Linked DNA regions of Homo sapiens: region 1 is linked to region 2. Evidence: promoter capture Hi-C in 16 types of primary human blood cells and fetal thymus (Javierre and others, 2016). All regions are on one chromosome and are shown on one strand. The core of a region is centred on a gene start or on the middle of the fragment in contact, and the rest is flanking DNA. Distances in the headings are between cores, read along the strand shown. Region 1 has its middle 110 kb from the start of AP1S2. Region 2 holds the start of GRPR (gastrin releasing peptide receptor).

Evidence for each region. The method cuts DNA at HindIII sites, captures the fragments that hold promoters and counts their contacts. A CHiCAGO score of 5 or more calls a contact.
Region 1: a contact is called between a fragment that was not itself captured here and the fragment with the promoter of GRPR in region 2, in 2 of 17 cell types (total B cells and M0 macrophages). The highest score is 6.8, in total B cells.

Annotation. Positions count from the first base shown.
Region 1 is chrX:15,965,643-15,969,705 of GRCh38, forward strand. No RefSeq gene overlaps it. Among named protein-coding and RNA genes, the nearest start is that of AP1S2, 110 kb to the left of the region's middle. The HindIII fragment of the contact is 239 bases long and covers 2,346-2,584 here.
Region 2 is chrX:16,122,224-16,125,891 of GRCh38, forward strand. GRPR (gastrin releasing peptide receptor) reads left to right here and starts at 1,342. Exons shown (of 3, transcript NM_005314.3): 1 at 1,342-2,143. The coding sequence starts at 1,731. RefSeq lists an enhancer at 1,043-1,337. The HindIII fragment of the contact is 8,500 bases long and covers 389-3,668 here.

The DNA.
Region 1 (4,063 bases), core at 1,215-3,714, 160 kb before region 2:
AATTAGCCAGGCGTGCTGGTGGCGCACCTGAAATCCCAGCTACTTGGGAGGTTGAGGCTGGAGAATCGCTTGAACCCAGGAGGCGGAGGTTGCAGTGAGCAGAGATTGAGCCATTGCACTCCAACTTGGGTAACAAGAGCAAAACTCTGTCTTAAAAAAAAAAAAAAAGAAAAAGAAAAGAAAAGAACAAACTTGAGTACATTGTCTCATTTCTTATTGAATCAGTCTCAGTCCTGAGAATAGATCAGTTCAGTTAAATAGTTGTGTTTCATTTGAAGAAGTGGTATTTCAGGTGAGCTCCTATCAAAGTTAGGCCTCTATAGTGTGTGAGCAAACAGGTATTTAATAAGAGGCATTTCTATGGAAACAAAAGAAAAACAACGGTTAATAGAACAAACTATAAACTCAGTTTTTAATTCCAGATGGCAGCCAATTGAGAAGATTTCTAGGTCTGAGCACAAAGTGTCTTTAGTTGGACTGAGGGCAGGCAGTGGCAATTTGATGGATTTTTCTGGTTTGCAGTTTGCATGAGGTATTCTGGTAAACTTTCTTCATGGCCCATAACAGCAATAAGCATGAAGGTTGCCCATACCTAAACTGTTGTGGTGGTTTCTTTGAAGTCTATATCAAGTCATCCAGCTTCAGCTTGCAGGGCTTTGAGAAAAGGGCAGTTTTTGTTCTTAGCGATTCTAAGTTAGAAAGATGGAAGAAAGTTAGAAATGTTAGTTTGGAGAGTCGCAATTAGATATTGGAGGAAACTAAAAGAATTCAGGATCCAGTTTAGTTTATAGATAGATACTAAAACCTCGAAAACAGTGAATAGGGGGCTGGGTGTGGTGGTTCATGCCTGCAGTTCCAGCACTTTGGGAGGCTGAGGCGGGAGGATTGCTTGAGCCCAGGAGTTCAAGGCTGCAGTGAGCTATGATTGCACCACCACACTCCAGCCTGGGCAACTGAGTGAGACCCCATCTCTAAAAAAACAAACAAAAAAAGCTAGAGTCTAATAATGACTGCACTACAGTCTTCTTCTGAAACATATTTTCCTCTCTGTATGGTCACCCCCATTTTTGCCAAAGACAATCGGAGTAGGATTAATTTATTTGCAAAATAAGTCTAGTCTCATTAAACTTGGCCTGATTATTTATATAAGTGCAGCAAGAATAGTGATTGACCATCTACACTCCGCTTTCCTGGAAGATTTCATATGAAATCTCAGGTTAAACTTTTAAAAGCCTCTTGAGGCTAAGAAACCAAGCCTAGGACTTGCCATCAGACTTTGCCTGCAATGCTTATTGATTTGGGTGAATTCCTCTCTTCTTTCTGTCTCCAAGGTATCTTGAGGTTCCTGGGCCTTCTAGGAAGTGGCATTCTTTACCCACCTGTAACGCTGGAAACGCATTTAAATTGGGTACCAAGGCAGTTTTTCTGGGGGGTCAGGGAATGGTTATTGTCTCCATGAAGTTAACCTTAGTTCCTTAAAAACTGATCATATCTAGTTCTATGCACATTCTCAAATATGATGTTCTAGTCAAATGCCTTGGTAATATAATCAATGTTTCCAATTATGTCCTGTTAAAAAAGAAAACAGATTCTTATTGAACTTATGCAAATAACTACATTGCCATAAAAACAGAATACCCACTAATAGCTTCTGAATTCTGGAGGGATCAGGTAGGGAGAAAAAGTCAATATTTTAATTCTCTTTACAAAAGTATAATTTGCCAAATTGTTATAAGCTATAGATAGCTTAAAATAAAAGAAAAAGTTTTCTTAAATCTAGAAAACACCTGTAATCCCAGCAGTTTGGGAGGCCAAGGCGGGTGGATCATGAGGTCAGGAGTTTGAGACCAGCCTGACCAACATGGTGAAACCCCGTCTCTACTAAAAATACAAAAATTAGCCAGGCATGGTGGCGTGTGCCTGTAATCCCAGCTACTCAGGAGGCTGAGGCAGGAGAATTGCCTGAACCCGGGAGGCGGAGGTGGTAGTGAGCTGAGATCGTGCCACTGCACTCCAGCCTGGGCAGTAGAGCGTGACTCCATCTCAAAAAAAAAAAAAAACAAACCTAGAAAAACATTAAAGAATCAGTGCAGTTTTAAACAACAAGTTTACAAGAAAACATAATTCTTTTTCAACAGTTCATTTGGTCCCATGTAATTAACTCATATTCTGCTTGATATTGGGTTAGTACTTTTATCAACCAATCAGTTTCTTCATTGGAGTTCTAGAAATTCTCCCCAGTTCAATGGTATGATCTTAGAGTTATTAGAAACCTGTACTTGTCAGAGTCCTTTCCATGAATCTCCTTGAAGATGAAACACTTCAGGGTTATAGTTGCTTGCAAAAGCTTTCATGAAAGAACCAGAGTAAAACAATTGACGGTGGATGACAAGACTTAAAATGGCAATGGTGAAAGATCAGATAAAAGTTCATTATAATGTAATTGGCAAGGAAATTTTATTTCTGTGAAATACAATATTTTGAGATAATAACTAAAATTATGACTGAAAACATTATGTCAGGATGTATCAGATTTCTAGGAGTTACATACAGTTACTGAAGTGTCATTTTAGCAACATGTAGAAGCTTTAGCATCACTTGTTATTTGACAATACTTTCCATACAATTTAACATGTAAAATAAACTTAATTAGTTTAACATCTCTCTTTGTATTAATATAAGGAGATAGAACAAATTCTTTTGTGATATTCCTGGGGCCCATCTAAAAAATCCCAAAGTTAATTTGAGGTTAAAAAGACTTAATTTAGAATTTGCCTTTGGGAGGTTGTCAAAAATGTCAAAAAGTTTAAAACAGTTGATTAAAGAAGATCACAGGTCACTGTGAAACAATAGTCATTCATGTAACCAGAGTGATAATTAAAAGACTTCAAAGGCAAATACAGAAAGTTAAATAGTTGTAGAAAAAAACCTTGGCTATTTTAGTAGAGGGGACTCAGTTTTCTTAAGTCACCAAAGACCTGATAAAAGACAACATGAAGCAAAGGAAATTATTTTGATAAGACATAAAATCTTTGTTTTCTAGCCAGCTCACTCAAAAGGTAAAGAAAACCTTTCAAGAGAAGACCAATGCTCCAAAAAACCTTTGTCCTTTTAACAGAGAGAAAACCAGCTTCTAGTTTTATACCAATGTACTTTTAATATTAAGGCTCATTTTTTTTTTTTTTTTTTGGAAACGGAGTCTCGCTCTGTCGCCCAGGCTGGAGTGCAGTGGCGCGATCTCGGCTCACTGCAACCTCCGCCTCCTGGGTTCAAGCGATTCTCCTGCCTCAGCCTCCCGAGTAGCTGGGACTACAGGCGCCCTCCACTACGCCCGGCTAATTTTTTTGTATTTTTAGTAGAGATGGGGTTTCACCGTGTTAGCCAGGATGGTCTTGATCTCCTGACCTCGTGATCCTCCCCTCTTGGCCTCCCAAAGTGCTGCGATTACAGGCGTGAGCCATCGCGCCCGGCCTATTAAGGCTCATTTTTAAAACATTTATAATACATTAATTCCATTTTAGCCATGAGATATTCTCTCTCTTTATCTCTCTCTTCCAGCTTTCTATATGCATTCAGTTTTTGTCCTTCATTCTCCTTTTTCATCCTAAAACAATCTGTCAGCCTATTTTAGCATAGAATTCATTACTCTCTTTTCTTTAGCAAAAATATATCCTCATACCTTACAACTTTCCTTATCAAAAATACATCTTATCTTCCTTGTATATAGAGCTGTTTCTCTTATAATTTCTAGTAGTTTTAATCACATGTATTAATTCGAATTCTTAACTCTTAGTCATTTTAATTTCTAAAAGTATGTGCTCCCTCATATTACCATTTTTCAATGTGGCACAGGACATGTTTGCTAATAGGCTCAAATATCTTTAGTTCTTCTTATAATAAGATGCCAAAAGTGGTAAAGCTTATGTAAGCAATTATCAGCATTTTATCTTATTTGGAAATGGTCTAGATATTCAATAGGTATCTGCTATTTAACTTACTGACACTCTAAGGGTGTAAGTTACCAAAGAGATTTGGAAATCTGCTTTTAAATAGACATATTATA
Region 2 (3,668 bases), core at 92-2,591:
TGGTTACTGGTGCTACTGATCTCTGCCGAGAAGCTCTTCCACCTCTAGCCATGCAGCATCAGTCTCCCTCCTGCTGGCAGAGAGGGGCGCTGAGCCTTTCATATTTACATAGAAAGCATGGCAGCAGCCTCAGTGTTGGAACCTGCCACTGGAAATGTCCATAACAACACAGTTGGGGGCTTTCTTTGTGGGCCCTGGCATGGTAAGTGCAAGTTTTGTTATTCCTTATGGGTTCTGAAAAATGAGACTTCACCTGTTAGTGACTGGCTTCACGTCATGTACCTGGAGGAGCTGGCTTCACATACGTCATAAAGATGCACTCTAATAATGTATTTAGAAGTTGTTGGCTAAAGGTCTAAGCCTGATTCTAATAGCACTTCCTCAATTAAGCTTTTTCTAGCACTCCTTCAACGATAACTTACTTCTTTTACCACCCACTCAATTCCTCAGTATTGTATCTATCACGCTTTTATAGTTCTTTATTTTCCACACAGGGCTATAAAGAGGATATTTGCTATAAAACATGGCAAACATTCAATTAAAAATGCAAATAGCTGCATCAAAATGCCGATTCATAAAATTTTTAGATCAGATGAGAAAAGACCCATTTTTCTGGAAAAGACTATTGATCATTGAGAGTTAAGAATACAGCTGGTTCCCAATTTAATTTCTCCCTGGTAAACAGAATAGGAATGGCTTGGCAAATCTACAGGAAAGAACATGTGTGCATTGTGCTTCTGGCTTTTCCAGATGTCAGTTGCTGAAGGTTTAAGGTGTGAGTCTGTGCATGTGTTTCTGAGGATCAGTCCCTGTTCAAAGAGGCAGTGGGAAGACTGAGTGGGATAACTCACACATGGACACCCTGTGCATCAGTGTGCGTTTAATTCAAAGACAGACCTCATTTGATAGCAATATTGACATGTCATTCTAATGAATTAGAAAAAATGAGAAAATGGGATGTAAATCCCCATCTGGATTCATGGGGATAGTATCAGAAAGATTTTCAGTGCCTTTGCAGAATGCTAGCAACATTTATTAAATACCTACCCTAGGTGCTATGTGCTTACATGAGAAGCCAAAGGTATCTGTTAAGCTAGGTAGGAACTGCAGTCGGCTGGTTGCTTCTCATCTGGAGAAAGCAGGCAACTGGGCAGTGATTGAAGTGTCCAGCAGGGGGCTGGCATTCTCTGTCTATAAGTAACACTGGTTCCTCTTCAGAGCCTCAGCTCAGCGGAGCTGCCGTTTGCTGGTGAAGCCCGTGACGTGCAAAGCATCCTGCCTATAGGATTTGAGGATTTCTCAGTGCAGTTTTTTTCTACCCACTTTAAACCTCCAGATTCTAAATATCAGGAAAGACGCTGTGGGAAAATAGCAGGCCAAAAGTTCTTAGTAAACTGCAGCCAGGGAGACTCAGACTAGAATGGAGGTAGAAAGAACTGATGCAGAGTGGGTTTAATTCTAAGCCTTTTTGTGGCTAAGTTTTGTTGTTGTTAACTTATTGAATTTAGAGTTGTATTGCACTGGTCATGTGAAAGCCAGAGCAGCACCAGTGTCAAAATAGTGACAGAGAGTTTTGAATACCATAGTTAGTATATATGTACTCAGAGTATTTTTATTAAAGAAGGCAAAGAGCCCGGCATAGATCTTATCTTCATCTTCACTCGGTTGCAAAATCAATAGTTAAGAAATAGCATCTAAGGGAACTTTTAGGTGGGAAAAAAAATCTAGAGATGGCTCTAAATGACTGTTTCCTTCTGAACTTGGAGGTGGACCATTTCATGCACTGCAACATCTCCAGTCACAGTGCGGATCTCCCCGTGAACGATGACTGGTCCCACCCGGGGATCCTCTATGTCATCCCTGCAGTTTATGGGGTTATCATTCTGATAGGCCTCATTGGCAACATCACTTTGATCAAGATCTTCTGTACAGTCAAGTCCATGCGAAACGTTCCAAACCTGTTCATTTCCAGTCTGGCTTTGGGAGACCTGCTCCTCCTAATAACGTGTGCTCCAGTGGATGCCAGCAGGTACCTGGCTGACAGATGGCTATTTGGCAGGATTGGCTGCAAACTGATCCCCTTTATACAGCTTACCTCTGTTGGGGTGTCTGTCTTCACACTCACGGCGCTCTCGGCAGACAGGTAAGTACAGGCTGAAAGTTACATGCTCTCCAAGGGTGATAGACGCCTGGGTAAATGAACTACCATGTCGGGACAGGGAGCTGATTGCACAAGGGAAGTTTTACTCAAACACGGATTCCCTTCCAGGCAGGTTTTTATTCTGGGTATGACTTCTTGAGTGTAACATATTGGTTTAAGAAAGAAAAGTGAATGATGGGGACAGAAGGAGACAGATGAGAAAAAAAAAATCTCTAAGCAGAAAACTGAGGTGCCTTTTTCTGGAGACATATCTATTTAGCATTGCCTTTTCCTAACTTCTCCCTCCTTGCAAAATTAATTGACCAGTGAGAAAGACAATCACACCCAATAGAGTTTAAACCTCAGGCAAATGTTTTTTAGGAGCAATTGAAACCCCTCAGAGAACAGGAAAGTTCCACTGGATTTCTTCAAAACGTTCTTTCAGAAATAACCAAGAGGAGAAAATAAGCCTCATTTCTCTGAAATTCATTTTCCTCAGACAGTTTAACTTTTCTCACAGCTGATTTTGAATTTGACTCTCTGTGATAGAACAATTGTATGCCGGTTTTCCTAAGTCTCTCTTAAATGAAATCAAACATTATTTGAGTTTTTAAAATTTTCTGGAGAAAGCTCTATTCAAGGTTGATTTCTAATTTTAATATCTTTATTGACAATACTTCATATACCATGCTTTTGGGGCTTATTGTGGGGAGGAAGAGGGAGTTCACTACAGTTTTTTATTCTGGGAAATATACATATTTGCAAACTGCATTTCTTGTGTGAGCACATTGCATAAAAGTTTACGTTTATTCAGTCTTAAAACTATATATTCATTCTTTGAACATTTATCAAGTGTCTAGCATGTAAGAAACACTTACCTGAATTAGCAAGTCAAGAAATAGCTGCAGGTTGTTCACATAAATTACTGAACATACTTTATGTACTTCTGTGTTCTGGAAATTGGACATAGTAATGAATAGACTTTCAGACACAGCATAGACCATATGGTCAAACCCAGAAAAACTGCTGCAATGAACCTAGACTATAAATTTTTCACTTATAATCAACTGTATGTTATGTGTTAAAGATACAGAAGGATTTGAGAGTGTTCTGGAAAAGACATAGATGCTGCTCTTGAAAGTTTATACTCCGAAGAAAATGTCCCACATTTTAATACATGTGGTGCTGGATTCTCATTTTGTAGAGGAACAAACAGTCCTCAGGTGATCTGGCTTTGTTGAGTAATGGACAAATAAAGATAGTGTTATCAGTATTTATAGACATGTGTTTATGCTTAGCTACCTGAAGCACACTGCCCAGCACACGACATTTTCAAAGTCTGAAAAGTAATAGCACAGAAGTAAGGTTTGCACATTGTACCGACTGGACAGAGTTTCTCCATTCCCTCCATTCCCCTTCGGCTTGCACATCCTCCCCTGCACATCTGCCCACAGATACCAATGACCACAGACAGTTTCATGTATTGATTCAGGGCTGGCAAACTCTGGAGCTGGCAGAAGGGCTGTGG